Linked DNA regions of Homo sapiens: all the other regions are linked to region 2. Evidence: promoter capture Hi-C in 16 types of primary human blood cells and fetal thymus (Javierre and others, 2016). All regions are on one chromosome and are shown on one strand. The core of a region is centred on a gene start or on the middle of the fragment in contact, and the rest is flanking DNA. Distances in the headings are between cores, read along the strand shown.

Region 1 (4,035 bases), core at 383-2,882, 280 kb after region 2:
TTAGCTGTAAGTTTTTTTTAATAATTCAGTGTGCTCCTTGAAAAATTGAAAGTATTAGTGAGTTTTGCAAAAGGATTACATAAAATTAAAGCTATAATCTATGCTCTATGTTTTATGGACATATCTGTGTTCTAATCAGTATCCTCCAGTTGAGCTTTCTGAAATGACATAAATCTTCACTCTCCAATGTGGGTTGCCACTAATCACATGGGACTTTTGAGCACTTAAAATATGGCTAGTGTGACTAGAAGTAGAAATAGAACTTGTTGATGAAGAGTAGTGGTTCTCAAAGTGTGGTTTCCCTACCAGCAGTCTTAGCCTCACCTGCGACCGTATTAGAAATGCAAATTCCTGAGGCCCGTCAGAGACCTGCTGAATCAGAAACTCTGACGTTGGGACTGTGTTTTAACAAGCCCTCCAGAGGATTTCTGATGCAGGCTTAAGTTTGAAAGCTGCAGGTAAGGGAATAGTTTTGTTTTGTTTTGTTTTGTTTTTTTAAGAAATGGGGTCTCCATCACTGGAGTGCAATGGTGCTATCATAGCTTACTGTAACTTGAAATTCTGGCCTCCCAAAGCACTGAGATTACAGCCATGAGGCACTGCCCAACCAGGATAGAATGTAGAGTAAAGACTGTTTGGTTGTGAGTCCCGAGTCTTTCTCTTACTCTGTGTGGACCTGAGCAAATTATTTAACTGATCTACATCATAGTAAGTTACTTACCTCTTAGAGTTGTTTTAACAGTTACGGTAGATGTATTATTTAAACAGTGCATTGTAGTTTCTCATGTGTATACATTCAGTGATTGTTGGTTTTTCTCAAAAATTCAATTATTTTAATCTTACATTTAGCTGTAGAGGACAAGTTCTTACGTGGAACATGTGTATATCGCACATATCAAAGTCATCAGCCAAAAGTTGATCATCCCAGAGATATGTCCTTATATATACTCATACACACTGCCCCAGCATTTGATATGTTGATAAAAATATCTGGCACCCTTAATAACCTGACAGGTTTCATAAGTACAAAGTGCCTAGGCTGCTCAATAATGTACACTGCAGCCCATAGAACAAGTAAAGTAATTGAAGAGAGAAGTAGAAATTTCAGGCAGATTCTTATACAATTTTATTGTCCCTTCTTCTAAAACTCCCATATTCTAGCCTTAAAAGATTGACCCCCGCAAAAAAATGACTTTGTATTTAAAAAGCTCTGGTAGAGAAATGTTAAAGTGTTTTAATTTTGGAGGTATTTTGCATTTCCTTACATTTATGTTTTTAATATGTATTTTGGTCTTTTTCTACAGAAAATGGATATTCCAGCTAAATTGATTGTTTGTGGAATGACATCAAATGGTTTCACCATTGCAGACCCAGATGATAGAGGCATGTTGGATATGTGCGGCTTTGATACTGGAGCTCTGGATGTAATTCGAAATTTCACATTAGATATGATTTAACCATAAGCAGCAGCACGATCCAGAGATCCATTGCCATCAGTGATCTCACTAAAAATATACAGCTACTTCCCAGCTAATCTCCACCCAATGAATGATGATGGTATAGTATGTGCATAATGGAAAGTTACCTTACTGAAAAAAAAAAAAGAAGGAAAAATAAGATGGGCCCAAAGGTCTATCTACTAAACTAGCTCTTGGGGAAATAGCTTCAGGATACTGTAGTTTCCTCTATCTAATAGAGAACTTTTTGTTAACAGACACTGTAAAATAGTTTTGCTTTGTTGAATAATACGTGTGTACCTAAAAGAGGTAAGAGCAAAAAGTGTAATTCCACATCATGTTACTTGAGAAGTGCTTAACGTTTTCTTAAATGTTTTCATTGGGAAAGGACAGCTTTGATAATGTCCAAATACTCTGAAATGCACTAGACCATATAACTGTGATGAAATATGAAACTCATCTGTAAACTTTTATACCAAGGGGGTAAAAAAAAAAACTAAGGCATTTGATTAAATTATGAATGAGTTTTACAAATTCCTTTCAGAGTTTTACTAAGATCACACAAATAACAGCTTTCTTATTCAGTGAAAAAGATATTTTATTTCTGATGTTTTATTTGCACTTGTGGAATATGTTACCATTAATCAGAAACATCATGGCAACCCCTAAGAATAGACTAAGTTTGTGTTGGCTGAGGGATTCTATTTGGTTTGCTTTTTTTTTTTTGCTTTGTTATATTTTATTGCTACAAGGGGTGTGACTTGATAATGATTTCCTCTGAATTATAATAACATAGCCAGATGTAGTCTCACACTGTTTTTCATACTCTTAAGTGTAAATAATATAAAATGTTTCAAGCGCTTAACTCCCCCTCATTCACAAAGTATAACAATTAAAATCTCAACTATAACCAGTTTAGCTTTTTCCTTACTTTTAAAATAAAATTTTTTACTTTTAACTATTTTTTTAGTTAATATTTTTAAAAGTATACATGTCAATGGCCTCTTTGTCCATTATTCATTTTGTGGCAAAATATTCTTCTTTGATAGTGTAAACAAATAATAAAGCAATCTAGGTCCTTTAGGTTTGAAAGGCAATTTTTGAGTAGCATATTACCAGCTAGCCAGTCACTAGGAATTTTTTTCAGTATTATTTGTATGTATTAAACTTTTCATTACACTAAAGTGCATTATTTTATTGAGCAAGTATCCTTCATTGTGAGGTTTAACATTAAAGCAATCTGTTGAAATGCCATTATCTTTGCTCATAATTTTATTATGGCCGTCTAAGGTAGCTTACACATAAAACCTGTTTGCGTATCTGTTGTTCTCTAAATATTAATTGAAGATTTACTGAGGATTTGTAAGGTCCTTCTCGCTGTTATGTGAAAAGTCAAACTGTAGTTAATGTAAATTATAGCCTTTTAGGTGCTTGGGGGTTAGAGGGTTTATGTTTTTTGGGAAAGGGGGACTTTAGTAGTCTGAGGATTTCTGTACATATTTTCTTCTGTTTTATGTGAAATTTGGGCTCTGGGAATAAGAAAATATTCCTTTCAAATTTATTTGACATATTAATGCTGGTTTTGATATGTACCCATTCCTTCAAGGCAACTGGTATCAGTTTTTAAGTGTGATTTACCTGAGATATTTTTGTTCAGCAAAGCTCATAGCACCCTCACCCCCACTCCAGACATGCATTGCTTCTGATGTTGTTCACGTTTTTAACCCTGTCAAGCATTGAACTGAATATATTAGCTACTTTTGACACATTAAAATATTACGTTCAGATTGAATTTAAAGTTTAAAGAAACTAATAGAATTACGTAATAGTTATTGAATTGTTTAAGTAAACCCAAGATCTTAAAAATTATAACATGATCATTTTATTCCTAATAGAAATGTTAAATAGAATATAGTACAAAAGTGCATTACCTTCAGTTGTGTACTATTTCCATAATACTTTTAGACAAATATATCTATAAGTTAATATTAAATCCATCAAGGATACAAGATTGGATGGATATGACCTTTCTGAAGTATTTAGGTAGGTCTAATTAAATGGACTAGGGTAACATTTAAGAAAGAAAGGATAAGTAGGAGAAGCTACCACAGAAGGTAACTTTTCAAATCATGGCATATTTGAGCTGGAAGAAACCTTAGAAACCTAAAAGCTAATTTTTTAAATTTTTGTTAGAGAGCTGAGGTCCAAGACAGAGTGTGATTTTGAAGTACTATAACCTAGAAATCTTGGTCTCTTCATTCCTGTGCCAGAATTTATTTCCCCACAACATGGGAATACATGGTCTCAGAAGAGTAGAGGATAAAATAAAATTATTTAAGACTTTTACCTTATTGAGTTATTAGGAAATAATGTATATACGATTGCTTTAGGAGTAGAAAAATAGAATGGGAACATGTATAATCTTGTAATTCATAGGAATCCTCAAGCACAATTAACCTGTGTTGCTATATATATCTACATATATAGAGAAAAAACAAAAACTTTACCTCATTATGAATAAAATGTACTGAAGTGATAAGTTTTTTATTTCCTGAGTTACTTTTAGGATTACTGTTAA
Region 2 (3,745 bases), core at 574-3,073:
ACAGATGAGAAACTGGGACTCAAAGAGGTGTGAAGCTAGTGTCCCAACAGTTACTTAGCATTTACTGGATAAGCCCAGGCTCTAACTGGGTCTCCTGACAGAAGTCCAGCTCTCTCTCTCTGCTGCCTCTTTGTCAGAACTCCTGGCCTGCCAGCGAATTTAACTGTCTATGAGTAAATTCTAACATCTAAGGTTCTAAGTATAAAATATATTGAGGTTTACAGTGGTGAGAAAAAGCAAGTGTCTGCGTATTACAGACAGCTGATAAATACGTATTGAGTCATCAGAAAGTGAAAATAGATGTAGGACTATTATGCAAAGCATAGGAGAGGAAGAGCATATGCTTAAGAAAAAATGGCATTCCTAGAGTTAACAAGCATGTTTCAAAGTATCTATTACTGAAATCTACACGATTTTCCTTTCCACAATAAAGTCCACAACTGTTGTCTTAAATAATAACTGCAGGTTTTGCCCTCCAAGTCAAACTTGGAGCTCCAACTACTGGCAGCTCACCGTAAGAATATATTAATTATTTCCAATTTCCTTTTAAGAAGTCGAATACAAAGTAGAGAGAATATCTGCAGCTTGGTTGCAAAGCCGCTTAAACATTTCACTGGCTAGTTCTGGTAATATTATCCGAAATCAACTCATTTTGTGGTTGAGGTAATCTATTTGTCTTTACCAATCAAGTCGTTTTAAAACCTTCAGGAGTAGAGATGATACTTGAAGAATTAACAAATAAAACTTAATCAAGGAAACTGTTAACTCATTCTCCCCCCTACTTTTTGCCAGTTATTAAATGTTCTGGTAAATCCTAACTCAACAAGAATGACTCATGAGGAAATCCTGACTCCTTGAACTCACTGATTCTGGTGCATTACAGCTATGAAATCTCTATGTCTGCAGCTTTCTCTCCCACCATAAGGAAATCTGTGATTTCTATTTTGGCAGGAGATGTGACCAAGGACTCCTGAGGAATGACCCTATAGACAGACCCAGCCACGTGCCTAGTAGTGATCAAAAATGCAAACCCAATTAAAGCACTGTCTTCTGATAAAGTCACTTTCTCTTGTTCAATCCCTAATGTTCATTCTCAAAGTGTTCCAAGACGCCCCAGCAAGCTGCAGAGCAGATCCCACCCTGCCCCTGGGCAATCAACGTTTCAGGTTACTCCTTCCTTAAGTTAAGTGGCAGAGAGAAACGGGCGAGGGTCTCCCCATTGCCTCAGTTCACAGACCAGGGGGTGTCGAATGAGTCCTACAGCAGGACAGCAAACAAGAAATGAGGCGCGGGGTCAGGGAACGCGCTCAAAAAAGGAAGAAAAATCCCACTCTTCATTCGAAATCAGGCCACTGCACTCCGGCCTCGTGGCGGGCGACCTCCTCCTGCCAGGGAATCGCCGCTCTGGCCTCGGGCTGGGGAGCCCGTCAGGGTGGGTGAGGGAGCGCCGGCGCCCCCGCCGGGCCGCCGCCAACTTCGGCTCCCTCCCTCCGTCGCAAAGCCCTCGAGCCCGCCCGGCCGCCACGCTTCAGCAAAAGGTCGTGCGCAGCGGCCCACACTGAAGACTCTCCATCTGCTCCCACACCTGCCCCAGCTGGCCGCTGCTATGTGGCCCGAGTGCGCAAGAAGCCGGGGCCGCAGACGTCAGCAGCGCCCCGGCTTCGAGACCCTTCGGCAGCAGCCGTGACTGCCGCCGGCGGGCGCTGACCCATCCCCGTGCCAGTCTGCAGCCGACCAATCCGCGTCCTCTTGAGGCGGGGCCGGAGCCGCGAGGCCCCGCCCCCAAGCCGAGGCCTCATAAATGCTGCGACGCACGCCCAGCCGCAAACAGCCGGGGCTCCAGCGGGAGAACGATAATGCAAAGTGCTATGTTCTTGGCTGTTCAACACGACTGCAGACCCATGGACAAGAGCGCAGGCAGTGGCCACAAGAGCGAGGAGAAGCGAGAAAAGATGAAACGGACCCTGTGAGTATGGCTTTCTTCCCTCTCCCGCCACCCCCTGCCCCACACTGCAAGCTGCAAACGCGGTACTTTCGGGCTCGCCTTTGACGTTAGGAAACTAGCCTGAGCCTATGCAGGGAAAAAAAATCGAAAAGGTCAATTTGTTAAGTAAGGTTAAATCTGGGTGATGCTCGGGTACAGTTTAAGAACCGAGGGAGACAGTTGATATGAGGGCGGTGGTTGATGCGCTAAGAAATTGCGGGTTGGCTTTTTGTCCTCCTGCATTCAAAATGACATCAGAATCCTGCGGCTGAAGCGCGTCCCCAGCATTCATACGTTGCATGATGAGTTCTCATCAGCTTACACAGCTACTGGAAGGTGATGCTCTTGCTGGTTCTGAATATACTCGTTTAAAATCCATTTTTGTTTTTTAATTATAGAGCAGATCTCACCCAGTCCGAATGTGGAACAAATAATTGTTATGCAGCGTCTGCTTAAAAGAAGTGTCGTAGGTGGGGAAGGAAGAGCGCAGGGGAATCAGTCACCCACCTCTTTGTACAGTCTCTGGCGTGGTCCAGAACCTCCTGCTCTAAAGAGAGAAGCGTGGGCCGGCTCCAGACAGTTCCATGTCTGTCCTTTTCATTAAAGTGCAAAACGTCTCGGAATTGTAATTAACCTTGCAAACAAACTGATGCCCTTTGTGAGCCAGAAATAGTGTCTGCCTTTTGAACTAAATTCATTAACAATTCTTTAAAATACCCTAGTGATTATAGGTAGCCCTGCCCTTAGTTGTAAAACTAGTAGATACGGTCAGATTAATGGACGAAACTGCTCAGTACATGAGGTTTAAATGTTAGGTGGATAAGACTTATTTGAAGAGTTCTTGCTTTGCCTTATGCGGTTTGTCTCTAGTTACTGGGTGACTTTATTTGGTAAAAATGCGTTCAGCTGCAGTAGCATATTCAAGTGTTGCTAGTTAGTAATTATCTTTTTAATTTTTTGTTTTAGTTTAAAAGATTGGAAGACCCGTTTGAGCTACTTCTTACAAAATTCCTCTACTCCTGGGAAGCCCAAAACCGGCAAAAAAAGCAAACAGCAAGCTTTCATCAAGTAAGTTGAGAATCCTGTGCTTGCAAATATCAATAGTTAGCTGCTGAACTGAAAAGGGGAACTCTGATGTGCGTAAGCTAACATACAGAACCTCTCTTGCAGGCCTTCTCCTGAGGAAGCACAGCTGTGGTCAGAAGCATTTGACGAGCTGCTAGCCAGCAAATGTAAGTTAACTCTTGAGCTTGAGCCATTGCTAACATCGCAAAAGCCTGGAAAGGCTGCGTCCACCTAACAAAAGAGCAGCTTGCCTGAGGGGGATTAGACTGCAGTCACTATAGGATAAAGCCTGTTTTTCTTTCCTTTATTTCCCAGGGTTTAACAAATAAATGCATATATTCTCTCCAGGTGGGGAAGAAAATCAGCCTAAACAAATTAAAGTGGCAGTTGCTTATAGTTAAGGTTGAGTCAGTTTTTCCATTGCATACAATGTTTTCAAGAGGCTTAGTTCCCAGAGAATTTATGGCTCCCCTATAAATATTTACTTTGCATTGACAGCAAAGTACTTATATTTTTGCAGCAGAGTGCCAACATAAGCCTTTTGCCTACTGGTATCTTAGTCTTTAAAAAGCTAAATTTTGAGAATTACAGGTTTGAGCGAAATCTAGAAAATTCATTTAGAAATAATTAAAATGTGAGGGATAGGAGAAACATAAGGAATCATTTGGTCTCTCAGTTCTTCACATTCTGCATGCT
Region 3 (4,193 bases), core at 970-3,469, 270 kb before region 2:
AAACACCAAAATCAATGGCAACAAAAGCCAAAATTGACAAATGAGATCTAATTAAACTAAAGAGTTTCTGCATATCAAAAGAAACTATCAGCAGAGTGAACAGGCAACCTACAGATTGGGAGAAAATTTTTGCAATCTACTCATCTGACAAAGGGCTAATATCCAGAATCTACAAAGAACTTAAACAAATTTACAAGAAAAAAAAACAAACAACCCCATCAAAAAGTGGGTAAAGGATATGAACAGACACTTCTCAAAAGAAGACATTTATGCAGCCAATAGACATATGAAAAAATGCTCATCATCACTGGTCATTAGAAAAATCAAAACCACAATGAGATACCATCTCATGCCAGTTAGAATGGTGATCATTGAAAAGTCAGTAAACAACAGGTGCTGGAGAGGATGTGGAGAAATAGGGATGTTTTTCCACTGTTAGTGGGAGTTTATCCTTTTTTTCTACACAGGGATATTCAGGTGGTGGCATATCTAAAAAACCTTACATAAACAAAAATGTATTTTTAAAATATATTTTATGCTACTTAAATAAGAAACCAAAAAAGAAAAATGGGAAGGCGATTGTCCTCTCCTCCCAGGCAGGGTAGATAAGAAAATAGAGAGGCAACATGAAGTGGATACTTGCAACTCTTAATGAAACTGAACCAGATACTCAAGACAGATGGGCTCCCCTACATCTTGCAAAGCAAAACTTATTTGTTCCTTTTACATTTTCAATTGCTTAATTTGAATTTCTTGGTGCAGGCAAAAGGATTTGTGAGAAATGTTTTACCCTCTTTCATTAAAAAAAAAAAAAACTATTCAATAGCAACTGTCTGAAGAAGGGGAGAAAAAAGGAAAGAAAACAAGAAAAGCCACAAAGCCCAGCTGCACTTAGTTTCTGTTCACTTAGTGCAGCTTATGACGTAGGCTCGTTGTATTTTGAATTTGCACATTAAAAACATTCATTCAGAGAGGAAACTGCCTTTGGCATAACCTGCAGAAGCAAATAGCATTCACAGAACTGTTATTCAAAAAATTGTACCCAGAGAGCTATATTTCTTATTTAAATGAAACTTAAGTAGAACCAGGGAGGAGGGGGAGGTATGTTTTATGGTGGGTAACTTCTGACTTAAAATTTGAATCAGGTTTCATAAACAATTATTGGAATCTGAGAAAAAGTCAAGCATCAAACCCTGAGTAGCTGAGAGTTTGGGGGTCTCACAGCACAAAAAAAAGGGTGTTGAAAGAGGAAGCCCCGTTTTTGCTCTAAGTGACTTGCCTGATCCCGAAGTTATGTTAGCTTGTTTACCTCCAAGCACACCTTTGGAGTGAGATTTTTAAAGCAGTTCTCTTTGTAACATCAACATTACAATCTATATCCTGAAAACTACGAAGTTTTATATTCCTCCTTCCCCTCACTAGGCCTCCCCTGGCCTGCTTGTGTATTTGCTTCTTAGGGTCTACAGGCCTCTCTCTGAACTAAAGCTCTTTTGAAGTCCCAGACTTCCTATCTCCACCCAGGATCTAACTTAGTGTGATAAAGGATAATTTATTTATGAAAAACATTCATGCCATTCTTTTAAACTAGAAGCTTACATTTCAAGGGTATGGAAATGATTTCTAGCTGCCCTAATTTCATGGCATTGGGCTGTCGTATGTCATATACCACTGCACTGTTCATAATATTTAGACAGTTCCATAGCAACCTGTAAAATACAGCCTCCAGAGGTCTGCATTCCTCCAGCTATTCATGAAGGATTGGAGGAATTCCAGAGGAAAGAAACCACATTACAGAGCACTGGGTCTGAAATGCTCCCTTTATGGTAGCAATTGCAGGAAACCTGGAGCAAAAACATGTCTTAGGATTTGATGCAGACCTCACTACAGTTTCTAGAAGCATTCCCTTTTCACTTCTAGTTTTCTGACTTTACTTATAAGGTATCCAAAAATGGTTTGATAAAATTAGACTGCTTTATAGCTTATCTTTTTTTCCTTTCCAGGGTGGACAAATAAATTATCAGATTTTTATTACTTAAAATGTGTTATACAAAAATATTAGTGGGCAATACAGAAACGCAAATATATTCTAAGGCCTGGTTCTCTTTCCATTTGCTTCTTGAAATTTGCAAGTAAAATTTTCATTTTGGCCTACTTTTGAACCAGACCACAAAAACTTACTTTATTACACTATCCATTCACATTAAAATAGAATTTCTACAGTGACCAGCACAGAGATTTTAAATAAATGTGGTCGACACTCCTTAGTCACTGTTGCCATCTTCACTCTCTCCATCTCTCATTTTCATCAACCTGTAAGATAAGTCACTATCTATTTTCTATCTATATTTCATTCAAAATGTCTTATACGTTTGTAGCTCTCTATTCTCATAGGTACTACTTATCTCCAAATTATATCTCCTCGCATAAGATTACCATAATAGTCTACCACTTTATGTCTTTTAAAATATTTCCTGTAGCACCTTATAGAACACACAATATTTTATATATTCATCACATTTGATCCTCAACCTATGTTTTAAGCAAAGCAAACATCATCCCAGCTTCACAGATAAGAAAATGGTCTCAAGAAGACTAAATGACTTTCTTAATCAATGTCATGAAGGTAGCAAGAGACAGAAACAAAACTTGAACTCAAAACCCTTGAATCTAAATCCCAGTTCCCTAAACTTAATACTTCCTTCTTAAGGCCAAATAACAACAGCACAATAAAACCCGCTAAAAATTTCAACAGGTCCCTATTTATTAAACACATATGGCAACTTAGAAGTGGAGTGGCCTTACAGAGTATGAGGTTTAACAATCCTCATTTTATATATTATAGCTCCAGAAGCTTGAGGACTGGGTGATATTTCCAACATTACAGAACCAACGATAGACCCCACCAGTTCTTGAATCCACTGACTCCCAGCTACAGCATTTTCTGCTACACTTTTCTGTCTTACTGCCTTAAGTGACCCCCAGAATTTTTAGCTTTTGATAACATGTCCCAGTAACATGTCCAGCTTTAATTTTACCATCTCAAAAATGTGCCTCTGCTAAAAACAGGTTTATACATTTCACTTTCCAACAGGGGGACCACACTGATACAACCTCTGGACAGTGGTCCACATTGCTCACCAAACCTGGAGCAATGTTCCCTTCAGTCTTTCCAAGTACAAGTCCTAGTCAAATTCTACTCCCTGCACAGAGCTGGCATCTCTGTACCTCAAGAAACCTCCCTTCTCCGACTTCTTGCAGTACTTGTAGTTTCTACCACACAGATCTCATACCTGCAAATCCCTTTGAGGTCAGTGGCCAACTGGTCCTATGTTCCTGTCTAATCTCGTTCCCATGTTCTCCTCACTGAGAACAGTTGTTATATGAAATGTTATTTCCTTTTCCTAGAATATCCTTCCACTCTCACATATTAAACTGTCTAGAATATTCCTACTCAGGCTTTGCTTCTCAGCTTAAATGCTGCTTCCTCCATGAGGCCCCTGCTGTCTCTAGGTGACATAGGAAAGCTGTTTTCTGAGTTCCTATAGCATTCTGTACATTACTCCTTCAAACCAGTTATCTGATTTATATTGAAGTTGTCTACATGTCTGTTTCCTCACTAAAGATTCCTTGTCATAGACACAGTCATCAGCTTTTCTTATGTACTAAGTACTATTCCCAGGACAAAACTGGCACATGATATTTGTTAAATAAATCCAAAAATGAAATATTTATTTGCATAATAATGAAGACATTCTGTGTTACTTTAAGCTTAATAAATAAATACGGAGTTGGAAGCTTAGAGGGAAAATGTTTATCAAGAAAGCAGATATTGACTCTCATTGGCCTAGATCTAATTCCTATAGCAAACAATAAAGCAATGTTGGAGAAAGACAAAGTAGCAATTTATTTAGCTATTATTGTTCTTTCAGGGGTCACGGCCTTATACTTAGAGGTAAGTTCTTATATTCCACTATTTTCTAGAATTGGAGCGACTTATCCTTATAATAGAACTGTATTGAACATTTTGCTATTCCTTTAGCTCACCAAACTTTTTTTTATTCTTTATTTTTTATTTTTCTTGTGATAGGGTCTCACTCTATTTGTCCAGGCTACTGCAGTGCGGTGGCATAGGGTTCGCTGTAACCTGGAACTCCTGGGCCCAAGCAATCCTCCCGCCTCAGCTTCCCAAGTAG
Region 4 (3,815 bases), core at 64-2,563, 260 kb after region 2:
CAAAGACCAGGTACTCTCTCTTATAAGATGCCACAGTATCACATCACTTTGCCGAATTTTGAGTTTATGTGTGTATCACACTCAGTGACAAGAAGGAGAGTAACTTGGGACATGTTATTCTGTTTTCTGTCTTTTAAAATATGAATATGACCCTGGTAAATTTATATAATCAAGTAGGAAGGTGCCCTGGCTGCTAATAATGTTATCTGTTCCACTGTTTTATGTTGCACTCTGGAAAGTACAGTCACAGAAGCATAGGAAAACCTGAGCAGTTTCTGCTGCAGAAATACTGAAAGGGTATGTCCTCAGGGTTGTCATTTATATCATAACATGCAAAAGGAAGAGTCCATGAATAAGTAACTTTATTTCTTCTAATAGGGATTATAAGGATTATACTTAGAGATTACCTCTTAGACATCCTTCATAGATTTAAAAGTTCATTTTGCTGCTTGCTCTAGAGAAGTACCTGAATACCTAATATTAAATATGTTAGAAAAACAGAAATTTTGTTCTTAGATGACATTTTTACTCAGTATTCATTACTTTTCTTTAGAACTTTATTTTTTCTTGATTATATTTTTCACTACCTGCATATAGTACATTTATCATTCTGATTACAGAATTTATCTTAAAGACTTGTATTATATTTTGCATTATAAATATTGAGGCTTTTATTCTCAAAATGTGTTATGGGAAAGAGAAACCAATTGTGCATAATTATTTGGCAAATGGTTCAGAAAGTCAACTTTAATGATATTTGGCTTTAAGTATGTATTGCTAATTACATAAAAGCAATACAAAAGAGGAGACAAAAATGATAAGATTTGGTTTCTACTTTCAAGGGAACCAATAATGTAGCTACATGTGGTCACAATGAATAATACAAGGAAAAGAATTTGAGGGGAGAGGGAATTTTGAGGTTTGGTTTGGGACCTTTTAAATCCCACCACTTGGGCCTTGGTGCAGGAAAGCAAGTTTAGTAGAATTATCTGATATTAGATGTCATTTCAGTGTTACTCATCTAACAAATAAAACTAATAAGCAGAAGTAGACAGGTTGAAGTGCAACCAGAGCCTGTTTTTATGAAAGCTGAGGGAGAGACTAGCAAAGTCTATGTAATGTAAAGATCAGAAAAACATAACATTGTCTACTGGAATTGGCAATTAAGGTATCAGTCTTTGAGAAGCATGTTAGTCTTCTTAAAGTGTTTTGGATCGAAAGGTAGAGATAAAAGCCAAATTTGAAAAGAGGATAATAATAAATAGGAGAACAGGCATCCACTGCAACAGGAGTTTCAACCTATGCTGTATTCAGTAACTATGAATTTGTCCCTAATGACTAATATGATCATTACATCTCTGATGCCACCTGAGACCTAGGCTTCCACTAACATAAGCAAATTTATACTAGCGTCTTATTTGGAATATTGACACTAATATTCCGAACACAATTCAGATCACTGTCCCCCTCAGTCACATTCAAAATGTGAGGCTCTTCATTCTCCCATGCACTTATCCCTACACCACTATGTGTTCCCCTCTCTGAGACCCAGTCTTTCATTCCTCCCCTCTCTACCAAACTTCTCCACATACCATTTGGCATTCTACATCTCCTGTCAGGGGGGAATGTCTTCAGTTTCCTTATCCCTCATTCCTTCAAATCTATCTTTACCTATACTCTTTACCCTTAAAAGATAAAGGAAATATCTCTTGCTGTCAGTAGGCCAGTCTCAACCTGGATGCTCTAAGCTCATTCTCATTTCTTTAAGAAATTCCTTCAGTTATCCCCCTTCTCTACTGTATCTTCAGCTCTCCAAATTGAATCTTTCAATGTTAGCATCTTCCCATTGAAAAAGGTAAAAAGATTTTTTCTCTAAGTCCCATCCTCTTTTACTTTCCTTCATAGTTTATAAGTATGTGTCTACAAAAGAGTAGTCTAGCTGTGAAGTTTCTTCCTCACTGCATATTCTCCTGATCTCACTGTAATCAAGCTACTTCTTATACCACTCTACTGCAGTTGCTCTCACTAGTCACTCCTACTTGCTAAACCCAGTGGTCATTTTCTAGCCTTTTATTTACTTTTCCTCTGACCATTTGAAATTACCAACCATTCACTCCTTGAAGTTCTCTTCCTTGTAGTCCATGATACTATTCTCTGTCGGTTTTCTTCAACTCTGTGCACCTCCTTTTCCGTCTCTCTTTAAAAGGCCTTTCTCTCATTAGCTTTTAATGGTTAATATTCACCAAGATTCTATCCTTAGCCTTCCTTGTAATATATAAACATGTTCAAGTAAGCATGATCTTCAGAACAAAACTTCTTTTATCTTGTGTTCCTCTTTAAGTTATGACCGTATCTGTCAACATGTCTTTATGGCTCTACAGGATGCTTAGACAGTTTCTTTTCTAGAATATAAAGACAGATCGAGATTTCAGAAACCTCTTCCTGGAGCGCCTTCCCTAAACTTTATCAGTTTTTTAGTTTGCCTTCTCTGCTCAAATCCTTCTGGATTATTTAGACAGTATTATTTTATACTTCCTTGCTCACTCACTTTTCCACTACAGCACTTAATCACAATTTGCCTTCTCTGCACAAATCTTTCTGGATTATTGAGACAATATTATTTTATACTCCCTTGCTCACTCATAATACTTTTCTACTACAGCACTTAACTACAGTTTGCATTGTGATTCTATCCCCACAAATGAGTGTGATTTTCCTGTGATGAGGAGAAAAAAAAATTTTTTTTCTTTCTTTTTTTTTTTTTTTTTTTGAGACAGAGTCTCGCTCTGTCCCCCAGGCTGGAGTGCAGTGGCAGGATCTTGGCTCACTGCAAGCTCCGCCTCCCGGGTTCACGCCATTCTCCTGCCTCAGCCTCCCTCCTGAGTAGCTGGGACTACAGCGCCTGCCAACACGCCCGGCTAATTTTTTGTATTTTTAGTAGAGACGGGGTTTCACCATTTTAGTCAGAATGGTCTTGATCTGACCTCGTGATCCGCCCGTCTCGGCCTCCCAAAGTGCTGGGATTACAGGCGTGAGCCACTGTGCCCGGCCCAAATTTTTTTTTTTTAGTCTCTTTAATGGGAGAGAAATTGTCTTCATGTCTTACACATAGTATGTATTCAGTAAATGCTGGTTTAAGTTTTTGTTGGTTGTGCTGTTTTGTTAGCCATGGACAGAAGCCCAGTGCACCGAAATAACATGACAGATTGAAGGACCTCAATAAACAGTGATACTGTAGTAACAATAGTGGTGGACTGATGAAGAAGTGACAATTGTGGTTCCTCCATTAGAAGGATAAAGAGGGATGTTGTTTCCAGACAGCTAGTTCTAGGAGTTTTAGAGCTAATGGAAGGAGTAGAGTGAGGGTAGTTACAGATGACATAAAACCGTAAACCTAAAAATGGCTTAAACAATAAGGATACATTTATGACATAATAGGAAGTGTATAAGCAGGGCAGTTTCAGGTAACCCGATATCAAGGACCCAGGTTCTTTGTTTTTTCTGTTCTGCTCTCTTTATATATTGGTGTGCCATCTTAAACTGGCTTATCTCAAGGTCTGAAGATGGTTGTTACCACTCCAGGCATCACTTGCAAATGAAAATGTCAGAAGGCAGAAAAGGGAACATTTCTTTTTAAGAGCCTGAGCCCCCTTTTAAGACTGAAGAAAACCTCAAAAGTGTTCTCAGCTGACTTATCATGTCATACTGGCCAGTCATGACACATGCCCAACTCCCTATACCAGTCATGTGGCAAGGAGAGCACCATGATTATTGGGCCTGGGTCAAGCAGCAGCAGCAGCTGGGAACTTGTGATA
Region 5 (3,782 bases), core at 47-2,546, 290 kb after region 2:
AGTTGGTCTATTTTTATGATTCCCTTGTGTTTACTAGTAATATTTAGTATAAAAGTCCATCCTAGGGAGGGCCTGCCATACCAGAGATGTATTAATGAATCCATCTTACGGAGGACAAAACTAAGGCTGAGTGGTTCGTAATACTGGGATTTGACTCAACCTTGTCACAACACCAAAGCCAGTGCTCTTCCCTCCACCATGCTGCCTCAGGTTACAAGACACACTAACACCATCGTGTAGGGAGAGATGAGCTTCCAGGGCTCTGACATATATTAGACACTGATGAAGAGATTCCAAAGTGAGCTGAAACTAAAGATGACAGCGTTAGGGTTTCTAGAACTCTCTTCCCACTTCTCAAGCTCGCCCTTAACTGTATATCCCATGATGTTGTATTTTTACTTTAAAAGAGGCAATTCAGGCCAGGCACGGTGGCTCATGCTTGTAATCCCAGCACTTTGGGAGGCCGAGGCAGGTAGATTGCTTGAAATCAGGAGTTCAAGACCAGCCTGGCCAACATGGTGAAACCCCATCTCTACTAAAATACAAAAATAAGTTGTGTGTGGTGGTGGACGCCTGTAATCCCAGCTACTAGGGAGGCTGAGGCAGGAGAATTGCTTGAACCCAGGAGGCAGAGGTTGCAGTGAGCTGAGATCGCACCACTGCACTCTGGCCTGGGCAACAGAGCGAGACGCTGCCTCAAAACAAAACAAAACAAACAAATAAAAAAGCAATTCCCTCACAGTTATAGTCAACAGCTAGGAGTTTAGCCAAATCAACTAAAGGCAGACATTTTTTTTGTTTGTGGTAGTAGTGAGTGGTAAGCAAGAGAGAAAAAATGGTATGTCTTGTAGGTTGCAAGGGAAGAAAAACATACATGTAAGAGAGATTTTCTAAGGCAGAATTAACGAAGCTTCTCAGTAAAAGAAAGAGGAAAAGAAGTCCTATCCCTGAGAGGATGGTTTACGGAGTAACTACTGCACACTAGGTTCTGTACTAACAAAGAAAACTGTTAAACTGCTTCCCAGGCCAAAATCAAATAGGATCCCTAGCTAAGGGCAGCTTGACTGGTATCAACACTAGACCTCAAGTGGGTATGATGAAAAGGAGCAGCCAACCTCATTATCCAACTTAGAGGGAGTGAAGACTTCATTAAGAATAAATCTCATACGTTTTAATTACCAAAATGATCTAGGACTTCTTAGTCACAAGGATGATTTTCATAGCAGATTTTAAAATAAATATTAATCTCTTAATTCATTTGCTAAACTATCTCAAGTTTGGATATTGAATAAGCATATTAAATATATAAGGGACAATTCTTTTTCTACAGAGGAAAGTTTTTCAATCATCTCCCACATCACTCACTTGGATCTGGTTCACAGGCGCCGTCGCTAAATTCTCCAAAGATGATGATGTATTGCTCTCCATCCTAAAAGGAATTTAAGAGAACAATGTAGTTTATTAAGCATTAAGGATAATTTATCACGAGTTTTATTTGAAAAAAATCAATCTCATAAACAAATATAGCCAAACTTACAAAATAGAAAAAAATTTTACTTATTATCAGTACAAAATGTCAATATACAAAGTATTTGTTTCACTAAAACCAAAAAGGCCTGTGTGCTTATGTAACTAGCTTCCCAACACCCTTAATTATTTGATAAAATCATATTTACTGTGTTTAAAGCTTGACACACTCTTATTTATAACTGGCAAATTTCAAATATTCCATCCTATGCCATATGACCTGACCATTGGTTTAAAAATATAGTTTCTATTTTCTTAGTAAAACATGCCAAAACTCTATGAACACACTGTGAAGCAGGGAATCTTCAAAGATTTTTGAGGAAGCTACAGTATCTCAACCGCAATGGGCCATAGCTCCAAATTTCCTAGTCTGCAAAGTGGAAACAATAATCACTGGCACGTCTCAAAGGATTTTGTGAAGATTAAATGAATTCATACGCAGAAAGCAGATAAGTGCCTTCCACATAGTAAATGCTCAATAATGTTTAACATTACTACTATTAGTTCCTGAATACAGGACCTCTCATTATCTCAGTATTTATTATCCAAAACCTAGCTATTGGGAGCTTGTAAAAGGAAGCATTCATTGTCAGGAAAATTATCACTAAAAAAAAAAACTCAACCAGTTTATCATCATCAAATCTTTTTATCCCTGGAACCTTTTCTTCCCCATCCACTCATCTTTCTTGGTCAACCAGGCCCTACCGCACTGTTGGAACAATATCAAACACCATGATGCAAACTAACTGCAGAGTAAAATTACAAATCTTACAAGAGGATTATGACATATAATAGATGTTTCAAAAGAGAATTACTCGAATATCTAAAGAATAAGAGAATTTTTGAAACTTCAAATATTTAAAAAACTATTATCCTTGTGATTATGTTATAAAACTCAAATATTCTGCCTTCAAATCAATACTGTATTCATTCATTGGGGGTGCATTTAAAATTTAAATGTTCTTAAATGTAAACATAAAGCTACTTTTTATGTTTTGTTTAATTTTTGCAATAGTCCCAAGCAGAATTTTTTAAACTGGATAGCATGAAATATTAGTCTTCTTTTTGAGATGGAGTCTTGCTCTGTCACCGAGCCTGGAGTGCAGTGGCGTGATCTTGGCTCACTGCAATCTCCGCTTCCCAGGTTCAAACAATTCTCCTGCCTCAGACTCCCGAGTCACTGACACTACAGGTATGTACCACCACACCTGGCTAATTTTTTGTATTTTTAGTAGAGATGGGGTTTCACCATGTTGACCATGCTGGTCTCGAACTCCTGACCTCATATGATCAACCTACCTCGGCCTCCCAAAGTGCTGGGATTACAGGTGTAAGCCACCGCGCCTGGCCTGAAATACTAGTCTTATTTTAAGTGAATCCACTCTAATAGCTTTTTCCAGTACATCTTATCCTTGGATAATGAACATCTGCCCTACACAGTAGTCCCCCTTTATCCACGGTTTCAGTTATCCAAGGTCAGCTGTGGTCCAAAAACATTACATGGAAAATTTCAGAAGAAAATAGTTCGTAAGTTTTAAGTAGCATGATGAAATCTTGAGCCATCTAGCTTCCTCCTACCCAGGGTATGAATCCTCCCTTTGTCCAGCATATGGACTCTGTATAAGCTCCCCACGCTTTAGTCAACAGCTGTCTTGGTGACCAGATCGACTGTCACAGTGTGGTGATGCTTGTGTTCAAGTAACCCTTATTTTACTTAATAATGGCTCCAACAAGAGTGAAACTCCGTCTTAAATAATAATAATAATAATGGCTCCAAACCACTAGAGTAGTGATGCTGGCAATTCAGGTACGTCAAAGAGAAGCCCTAAAGTGCTTCCTTTAAGTGAAACGGTGAAAGTTCTCCACCTAATAGGAAAAAAAAAATCACACGCTGAGGTTGCTAAGGTCTATGGTAAGAACGGATCTTCTATCAGTGCAGTTGTAAAGAAGTAAAAAATTCATGGCAGTTTTGATGTCACACCTCAAACTGCAAGTTACAGCCACAAGGTATAAGTGCTTAGTTAAGCCAGAAAAGGTATTAAATTTGTGGAGACAAGAACAGAAAAAGTGTTCCAACTGACAGCAATGTGTTATGCCAAAAAGCACTGGGCCTATGAGAAGATTCAGCAAGGGATTCCTTGAAATGAGCATTTTGTTATTAAAGTGATTGTTCTTTTATTATTGTTGTTAATCTCTTACTCTGCCTAATTTATAAATTAAACTTTATCATAGGCAAGTATGTATAGGAAAATAGC

What was found. Contacts are between HindIII fragments. The CHiCAGO score rates a contact against its expected background, and 5 or more counts as called.
Region 1: a contact is called between a fragment that was not itself captured here and the fragment with the promoter of RGS2 in region 2, in 5 of 17 cell types (neutrophils, monocytes, naive B cells and 2 more). The highest score is 8.7, in neutrophils.
Region 3: a contact is called between a fragment that was not itself captured here and the fragment with the promoter of RGS2 in region 2, in 3 of 17 cell types (total B cells, fetal thymus and naive B cells). The highest score is 6.5, in total B cells.
Region 4: a contact is called between a fragment that was not itself captured here and the fragment with the promoter of RGS2 in region 2, in 12 of 17 cell types (monocytes, total B cells, total CD8 T cells and 9 more). The highest score is 12.8, in monocytes.
Region 5: a contact is called between a fragment that was not itself captured here and the fragment with the promoter of RGS2 in region 2, in 10 of 17 cell types (monocytes, total CD8 T cells, activated CD4 T cells and 7 more). The highest score is 12.7, in monocytes.

Annotation. Positions count from the first base shown.
Region 1 is chr1:193,083,275-193,087,309 of GRCh38, forward strand. RO60 (Ro60, Y RNA binding protein) reads left to right here. Exons shown (of 9, transcript NM_001173524.2): 9 at 1,305-4,035. The coding sequence ends at 1,457. Among named protein-coding and RNA genes, the nearest start is that of GLRX2, 20 kb to the right of the region's middle. The HindIII fragment of the contact is 6,162 bases long and covers 1-4,035 here.
Region 2 is chr1:192,807,216-192,810,960 of GRCh38, forward strand. RGS2 (regulator of G protein signaling 2) reads left to right here and starts at 1,824. Exons shown (of 5, transcript NM_002923.4): 1 at 1,824-1,966; 2 at 2,951-3,052; 3 at 3,155-3,216. The coding sequence starts at 1,857. RefSeq lists silencers at 275-364, 1,301-1,510, 3,018-3,077 and an enhancer at 1,841-2,060. The HindIII fragment of the contact is 4,593 bases long and covers 1-3,040 here.
Region 3 is chr1:192,538,204-192,542,396 of GRCh38, forward strand. All of the region lies in intron 4 of LOC105371664 (a long non-coding RNA gene), which reads right to left. Among named protein-coding and RNA genes, the nearest start is that of RGS1, 35 kb to the right of the region's middle. The HindIII fragment of the contact is 1,260 bases long and covers 1,590-2,849 here.
Region 4 is chr1:193,064,434-193,068,248 of GRCh38, forward strand. All of the region lies in intron 1 of RO60 (Ro60, Y RNA binding protein), which reads left to right. Among named protein-coding and RNA genes, the nearest start is that of RO60, 6.7 kb to the left of the region's middle. The HindIII fragment of the contact is 6,967 bases long and covers 1-3,815 here.
Region 5 is chr1:193,099,776-193,103,557 of GRCh38, forward strand. GLRX2 (glutaredoxin 2) reads right to left here. Exons shown (of 4, transcript NM_197962.3): 2 at 1,366-1,429. Among named protein-coding and RNA genes, the nearest start is that of GLRX2, 3.7 kb to the right of the region's middle. The HindIII fragment of the contact is 777 bases long and covers 909-1,685 here.